Linked DNA regions of Homo sapiens: region 1 is linked to region 2. The links are contacts of gene promoters, found by promoter capture Hi-C in blood cells and fetal thymus (Javierre and others, 2016). All regions are on one chromosome and are shown on one strand. Each heading gives the region's core, a stretch centred on a gene start or on the middle of the fragment in contact. The rest is flanking DNA. Distances are from core to core; before and after follow the strand shown.

Evidence for each region. The method cuts DNA at HindIII sites, captures the fragments that hold promoters and counts their contacts. A CHiCAGO score of 5 or more calls a contact.
Region 1: a fragment that was not itself captured here is called in contact with the fragment with the promoter of CRLF2 in region 2 in 3 of 17 cell types (total B cells, non-activated CD4 T cells and naive CD8 T cells); the score reaches 6.7 in total B cells.

Annotation. Positions count from the first base shown.
Region 1 is chrX:2,608,742-2,613,156 of GRCh38, reverse strand. It overlaps LINC03112 (long intergenic non-protein coding RNA 3112), which reads left to right and starts at 3,990. Exons shown (of 2, transcript XR_001755779.3): 1 at 3,990-4,051. MIR6089 (microRNA 6089) reads right to left here and starts at 3,966; the gene lies at 3,903-3,966. It overlaps LINC00102 (long intergenic non-protein coding RNA 102), which reads left to right. Exons shown (of 2, transcript NR_037842.1): 2 at 1-166. It also overlaps the pseudogene CD99P1. RefSeq lists an enhancer at 4,095-4,415. The HindIII fragment of the contact is 6,762 bases long and covers 1-4,415 here.
Region 2 is chrX:1,211,080-1,215,209 of GRCh38, reverse strand. It overlaps CRLF2 (cytokine receptor like factor 2), which reads left to right and starts at 2,561. Exons shown (of 8, transcript NM_022148.4): 1 at 2,561-2,654. The coding sequence starts at 2,576. The HindIII fragment of the contact is 4,372 bases long and covers 445-4,130 here.

The sequences.
Region 1 (4,415 bases), core at 1,025-3,524, 1.4 Mb before region 2:
AAGGGACAATAGCAAAATGATTCTCAATTTAAAAGGAAAAAAAGTTACAAAAAGCAGGATATCCACACAAACATAAGACACCATAAAAAAATAAACATACCACTTGTAAAACATTCCTGTTAAAAATATTCAAAGGCAAAAATAAAGTGCAAAACCATTTTCATAATAAGTGGCTGGTAATCTTTAATATTGATAAATCACTGAAGAAGGCTCATACATCAGTAGGTAGGGAGGCTGAGGCAGGCAGAACATCTGAGGTCAGGAGTTCCAGACCAGCCTGGCCAACATGGTGAAACCCCATCTCTACTAACAATACAAAAATGAGCTGGGCCTGGTGGCGGGCACCATGAATTGAAGGATCAAAGCCAAAGCATCCAATACACAAAAGAAGAAGTCTCCGTGGCCCATTGGGATGCATTATGCTTTTTACATTTCAGAATGAGAGATGTAAAACTAAGACCGGTTTGATATAATAATTACACTATTTGACAAAGGTTTTGTAGGTGATAATTGCTACTGGAAAAGGTTCGAAGACAGGGACATTTGCAGACACCCTGGTATCAAATCAAATTGGTGCAATTCTGGGGCAAACAACCAACCAGGTTAAAAGCTATAAAAGTACTCATGAGCATTGATCTAGACAATTTGAATGCCAGAAATCTCTTCAAAGGAATGAAAAAGAGTAGACAAAGTTGACTCAAATTGGCTTTGTAATTCATAATTCTAAAATGTCAGAAGACACAATGTTTTCAACATTAGGGATTAAAGGAATTAATGTATTTTATTATATATTTAGATAGAATAGTATTTGTCAGTAAATGTCATATGATAGAAATGAGAAAACATGAGAAAATGTGAATTAATATTCTTATGAATAAGTATAAAATAAAGTTACAATAAACAATATAGAGACCACCCGTAGGGTTAGAGGCTCTTACCAGTGAAACCAGGTCGGTTGGGGTTTGGATCTGGCTTTGGTTTGGGGGCATTAGGTGGTGCTGGGTCACCTGTTTGTAAAACATGAGAGTTGCAATCATCAGTACCTAGTAGTCAAGAAAATGAAAAATCAATTTCCATAGCGACCAGAAAATGAAAAATCAATTTTGATAGCGACCAGAAAAGAAAATGAAAAATCAATTTCCACAGCGACCAGAAAATGAAAAATCAATTTCCATAGCGATGAGAAAAGAAACTGAAATATCAATTTGCACAGAGACTGTTCACTAAACAGGTAAAAACTGGCCCTTGTTTTTGTCATGGTGGGGATACCCATACACGTAGCCTCCTGCCAATTCCCTTCTGTTGTCTTCCAGGTACAGGATTTAACTTCAAGTATTTTCAAAGAAAACTAAACCAGGTGTGCAGACCACCTCCAGAATTTGGGAGGGCCTGTGAAAATGAAAATGTGCGACCCATTGTTCCAACTGTATGAAGAATCTGAAGATGGCAGCAACACAGCAATAAAGCAGCATGGCACCCTTGTGTGCACAGGTCCCTGTGTGACTGCGCAGATCTATGCCCACGAGGCCTGACCTGGCCAAGGGAGTCACATTTGCCTTACGTTGTTCCAAAGACTAACCATTTTAAAATAAAAGCCAGCATACTGGCTGGGCGTGATGGCTTGCACCTATAATCCCAGCACTTTGGGAGGCCAAGGTGAGTGCATAGCTTGAGTTTAGGAGTTAGAGACCAGCCTGCTCCACATGGCAAAACCCAGCCCCTACTAAAAAGACAAAAATTAGCCGGGCGTGGTAGTGGGTGCCTGTAATTCCAGATGCTCAGGAGGCTGAGGCACAAGAATCGCTTAAGCCCAGGAGGCGGAGGTTGCGGTGAGCCGAGATCGCGCCACCGCACTCCAGCCTGGGCCACAGAGTGAGACTCTGAACCTACACTTCAAAAAAAAAAAAAAACAAAAAAAACAAAAAAACCAGCATGCTGGTAACAAAAAAAAAATATATCAAAAATCCAACAACAAAAATAAACAACACATATACTTCCTATGTTCCCACTGTCCAAACTCAATCCATTTATCACGCAAAAGAGATGTCTTGAAAATGATAATAATTCAATGACAATCAGCAAAGTCAGCAACAGAGGAGACTTTAAAAAGTTACTCACTGTTTCCTCCATCAGGAAAGGCATCGCTAAGTCAAAGTCAGCCCTTAAAGGAGGGAAATGAGCTGTTAATACCAATGTTCTGAGAAATGAGGAAGGAATGACCCAAAAACAGGTGGAGAAAACACCACGGCCCCACGTTTCTAAATACTTCAGAAAACGTGAATTCCTATCTTCTCATCACTCTTCCCTCAGGTGAAAACAGTAAAAGATGAGCATGAGACAGAAAAAGAGGGAGTAAGAGAGAGAGAGGAGAGAGAAAGAGGGGGAGAGAGGAGATAGAGGAGAGAAAGAGGAGAGGGAGGAGAGGGGGGAGAGAGAGAGGAGATAGATGAGAGAGGCGGGAGAGAGACAAGAGAGAGAGGAGAGAGAAGGAGAGAGTGAGGAGATAGAGAGAGGAGAAAGGCGAGAGACAAGAGAGAAGGAGACAGGAGAGAGAGAGATGGGAGAGAGAAAAGAGGAGAGAGAGGAGAGGAGAGAGAGAGGAGAGAGGAGAGGAGAGAGAGACGAGAGAGAAAAGGAGAGAAAGAAGAGGGGGAGAGAGAGAAGAGGGGGAGAGAGAGAAAAGGGGAGAGAGGAGAGAGGTGAGAGAGAGGCGAGAGAAAGAGGAAAGAGGGGAGAGAGAGGGAGAGAGGAGAGTGAGGAGAGAGAAAAGCGAGAGAAAGAAGAGAGAGAAGAGAGAGAGGGAACAGGAGAGAAGAGAGAGAGAGGAGAGGAGAGAGAGAGGAAGAGGGAGAGAAGAGGAGAGAGAGAAAGGAAAGAGAAGAGAGGAGAGACAGAAAGAGAAGAGAGACTGCAGTATCCATAAGATCCATAAGAACGTCACCAGGGTTGGGGGGGAATCGGATGCCACCTCTTCCCCAGGTTCCCCTAAATTTAAGAGTTTGCGATTCTGCAAACTGTAGAAGGAAAATTAAAACTTGGAACCCCAGTTCACTCTGCCAAAATAATTAATAATAATAATAATAAAGCTGGAAGCTGAGTCAGGCAGGAAGCTGTCTTTCCTTCTGTTCCCAAGCAGACAGTGCAATAACTCTCTGTTGACCTTATCTTAGTAAAGTGCCAATTTAGTGAGCGCAAGACAAATACATAATTGACTATTCTACCTGCTGCTTTTCTTTTGCAACAGGTGAATTCGGTAAAATGAGCCTTCCTCCTTCTTTCCCCTCCAGCGTGCTTTCCCCCTTTAAATACCGAAGCTCTCAATAGTATCTTTGGAGAAAGGCATAGACCCGTCTCCCGGGCTCCTTCCTGATCTTCGCCGAATCAACTCAAAAGGATTGGGACTTGTCCCAGATACTTTTTGGTTTACGAAAGAAACGCTGGCTTTTTCCTCTGAAACGGCTCCCACCTGGCCCCAGGAAGAGCGCTGGGGAGAAAGTGGGCGCCTCCTCCGGACCTGGGTCCCCGTGGGCACAGCGCGTCCCGCCGGGCACGGAAGAGGGGCCGGGTGTCCCCGCGGGGCGCCCCGCCCCTGCACCCCACATCCCCAGGCGGATCCCCAGGCCCAGCCCGCGCCACCCCCCGCGTCCTCCCACCCGGATCCCGCCGCTCGCTCACCGGGGCGGCCACCAGACGGCGGAGCAGGCCGAGGAGCCGCAGCGCCAGCACGGCCCCGCGCGCCACGGCGCGCCCAAGGCGAGCAGAGATCGTCCGCGAGTGCAGCGCGCGGGCGAAGGCGGCGGGACGGAACCTCCCCCACGGGCCGGGTGGGGCGGAGCCCGCGGAGGACTCGAAGGGGTTGGGTGAGGGGAGCAGCCCTGCAAACTCAGCCCAGGCTGCGCCTGCCCCGCCCCGCCCCACCCCGGCCTCCACTGGCGCACGGAAGGGGAGGGAACGCCGGGCCCGGGGAGGGGACAGAGGAGGGGGCGGGCGGAGGTGGCTCGGGCCGCGCCGAGGGGACCACGGGACGCCCTCCTTCCCTTCTCAGGAAACTGTGAGTGCCCCCCGCCCACAAGCCCGTCGCCAGGATGCCGCCAACTAGAGCAAAGTGAAACCCCCAACATTCTCGGGAAAGTGCGGGTCCCTCCCTCTCTACAGCCCCTTAAATGCACGCCCCAGGGCGGCCCCTACCTGGAGCCAAGAGAAACCGCTGCCCTTCTTGGAGAGGTGTGGGCCTCTCCGCGCCCGCCCTTGCTGTCCCCTCTCTGTTCCTAACAGGCACCCCCCCCAGGCAGCCCCAACGGGGAGGAAATGAAACTCTTCCTGCTCCTCTGCTCGGAAAACTATGGGGCCCCCTTCCAGCTGCTCACGGGGCGCTCAGGGCGATCCCCAAGGGGTGCAAAGTGCAATCCCCTCCC
Region 2 (4,130 bases), core at 1,312-3,811:
AGATGACATGTCTGTTCCAACCAGCTCTCTCCAGACTTTTATTTATTCACTTATTTATTTATTTATATATTTTGAGACGGAGTCTTGCTCTTGTCGCCCAGGCTGGAGTGCCGTGGCACGATCTCAGCTCACTGCCAACTCCGCCTCCCGGGTTCACGCCATTCTCCTGCCTCAGCTTCCTGAGTAGTTGGGATAACAGGCACCCACCACCACGCCCGGCTAATTTTTGTATTTTTAGCAGAGACGGGGTTTCACCGTGTTGGCCAGGCTGGTCTCGAACTCCTGACCTCAGGGGATCCTCCGGCCTCGGCCTCCCAGAGTGCTGGGATGACAGGCGTGAGCCACCGTGCCCGGTCCTCTACAGTCTTAAACTGGGGCCCCATCTACCCAGCATATGCTACCATCACAGTGTTTGTGGTGTTACGAGGAGAATGCCTACAAGCTTGAGTCCCTTGGTCTGGGAAGCTGGTCAGCGGCAAAGGTGAACTCTGCGTTTGTCTGAAGACAGATGAACTATGAAGTCTCTGGATGTCCAGCCCAGCTTGGGTGCAGAGTATATCACAGAACACTGACCACACAACTGCACACTCATCCACGAGTCTCATCATTTAGCAGAGAGCAAGAATTCCGGGCTTAGAAAGTTAGCATGTCATATTTTTTTTTTTTTTTTGAGACAGAGTCTCGCTCTGTCAACAAGGCTGGAGTGCAATGGTGTGACCTTGGCTCGCTGCAACCTCTGCCTCCTGGGTTCAAGCGATTCTCCCCGTCTCAGCCTCCTGAGTAGCTGGGATTACAGGTGCGTGCCACCACGCCTGGCTAATTTTTGTATTTTTTTTTTTAGTAGAGACAGGGTTTCGCCATGTTGGCCAGGCTGCTCTGTGATATGCTTTCAAGCAAAGCTCAGGCCAGGTGCGGTGGCTAACGCCTATAATCCCAGCACTTTGGGAGGTCGAGGCGGGTGGATCACCTGAGTCCAGGAGTTTGAGACCAGCCTGGTCAACATGGTGAAACCCCGTCTCTATGAAAAATACAAAAATCAGCAGGGTGGGTGGCATGCATCTGTAATCCCGGCTACTAGGGAGGTTGAGGCAAGAGGATTGCTTGAGCCAAGCTGTTTGAGGCTGTGGTGAGTCCTGATTGCACCACAACACTCCTGCGTGGGTACCAGACGAACACCTTGTCTCAAAGAATAGGAAAGAAAAGCTGGGCACGGTGGCTCACGCCTATAATCCCAGCACTTTGAGAGGCTGAAGCGGGCCGATCACTTGAAGTCAGGAGTTTGAGACCAGCCTGGCCAACATGGTGAAACCCCATCTCTACTAAAAATATAAAAATTAGCCAGGCGTGGTGGTGGGCGCCTGTAATCCCAGCTACTCAGGAGGCTGAGGCAGGAGAATCGCTTGAACCCGGGAGGAGGAGGTTGCAGTGAGCCAAGATCGTGCCACTGCACTCCAGCCTGGGTGACAGAGAGTGAGACTCCAGCTCAAAAAAAAAGAAAGGAAAAGCAAGAGAAAGGAAGGGGAGGTGGGGAGGGGGAGGGGAGGAGAGGGGAGGGGGAGGGGAGGAGACGGAAGGGGGAGGGAGAGGGGAGGGAGGAGGGGGTGGGGGGAGGGGGGAGGGGAAGGGAGGGGAGGGGATGTACACATCTACGTATCCATCTATGCATGCATCCATCCACCCATCCACCTATGTATCTGTTCATCCATTTATCCATCCATCCACCCACCTATCCACACATCCTTTCATCCACTTATCCATCCATCCATATACCATCCATGGAGGGGAGGGGAGGGGATAGGTGGAGGGGGTGGGGGAAGGGAGGGGGACAAAAGATGAGGGGATGGGAGGGGGATGGGAAGGGAGGGGGTGGGGTGGGGGGGAAGGGGAAGGGAGGGGAAGGGAAAGGAAGGGAAGGGAGGGGAGGGAAGGGGGAGGGGAGGGAAGGGGGAGGGGAGGGGGAGGGGAGGTGGGGAGGAGGAGGGGAGGGGAGGAAAGGGAAGGGGGAGGGGGAGGGGAGGGAGGAGGGGGTGGGGGAGAGGCAGAAGGGAAGGGAGGGGAGGGGAGGGGATGGAGGGGAGGGGAGAGGGGAGGGGGAGGGGAAGTGAAAGGAAGGGAAGGGAGGGGAGGGGAGGGGGAAGGGGAGGGGAGAGGGGGAAGGGGAGGGGAGAGGGGAGGGGAGGGGAAGGGAAAGGAAGGAAAGAGAGGGGAGGGGAAGGGGGAGGGGAGGGGAGTGGGGAGGGAATGGAGGGGAGGGGAGGGGAGGGGGAGGGAGGGAAGGGAATGGAGGGGAGGGGGAGGAGATGGGGGAGGGGGAGGGAAGGGGAGGGCTCAGCTCAGCAGTGTGCGTGGCAGTCCTGATCCTGGATTGATTGTGTGTGTGTGTGTGTGTGTGTGTGTGTGTGTTCTTGACAAGTGTATCTTTGAAAATCAACTGTCACTGTGCTTCCTGCCTGTAATCATTTCCCTAGTTTCCTTTCTGACTTTTTAAAATCGATGGTGACCTCTGCTTATGAGTCATGAGTGATCTGTTCGTTGTAGGTCCCTGAGGACCTCACTCTCCACTCCTGTTTCAGGCATGGGGCGGCTGGTTCTGCTGTGGGGAGCTGCCGTCTTTCTGCTGGGAGGCTGGATGGCTTTGGGGCAAGGAGGAGCAGGTAATTATTTAAACACCCTCTTCTTGTTGTATTTTGGTTTGTGGTTTGCTTTGCAACCAGGCACTCTTTATTTTGTAAAACTTAAACAATGAGCATGGAGGTTTCTTTCTTCTTTTCTTTTTTTTTTTTTTTTTTTTCCGGGTTCAAGCAATTCTCCTGCCTCAGCTTCTCAAGTAGCTGGGACAAAACATATTTATAAGTAAATACATGAATATTAAGTATACTTATTGCTCCCGGAATATCCACTGCTTATATGAGCTTTCGGTGGCCAGAACTAGGAACTGTATGTGTGCGTGTGTGTGTCTATCTATTGATTGATTGATTGGTAGATATATTCATTTTTAATCTATCCATCAATGTATCTCATCTATCTTTTCCCATTAATCACCCATCCATCCACTATCCATCCATCTATTATTCATTGATCCATCCACTAATATATCCATCCACCCATCTATCAAACGATTCATCCACTCATACATTCACCCACCCATCAACCCACCCAGCCATCCGTCCACCCAACCTTTCATTCACTCATCCATCCATCCACCATCCACCCAGCTGTTATCTATCCATCCTCCCATCCACCCATCTATCATCCATCCATCCATCCATCCACCCATCCACCCATCCATCCACCAATACATCCATCCATCCATCCACCCATCCACCCATCCATCTACCAATACATCCATCCATCCATGCATTCACCCACACTTTTATCCACTTATCCATCCATCCATCCATCCACCCATCCATCCACCAATACATCCATCTATCCATGCATTCACCCACACTTTTATCCACTTATCCATCCATCCATCCATCCATCCACCCATCCACCCATCCATCCACCAATACATCCATCCATCCATGCATTCACCCACACTTTTATCCACTTATCCATCCATCCATCCATCCACCCATCCATCCACCAATACATCCATCTATCCATGCATTCACCCACACTTTTATCCACTTATCCATCCATCCATCCATCCACCCATCCATCCACCAATACATCCATCTATCCATGCATTCACCCACACTTTTATCCACTTATCCATCCATCCATCCATCCATCCACCCATCCACCCATCCATCCACCAATACATCCATCTATCCATGCATTCACCCACACTTTTATCCACTTATCCATCCATCCATCCATCCATCCATCCATCCATCCATCCATCCACCCATCCACCCATCCACCCACCAATACATCCATCTATCCATGCATTCACCCACACTTTTATCCACTTATCCATCCATCCATCCATCCATCCATCCATCCACCCATCCATCCACCCACCCACCCATCCATGTACACATCTACGTATCCATCTATCCATGCATCCATCCATCCATCCATCCATCCATCCATTCACCTATGTATCTGTTCATCCATTTATTTATCCACTGACTCACTCATCCACCCACCCATCCTTTCATCCACTTATCCATCTATCCATC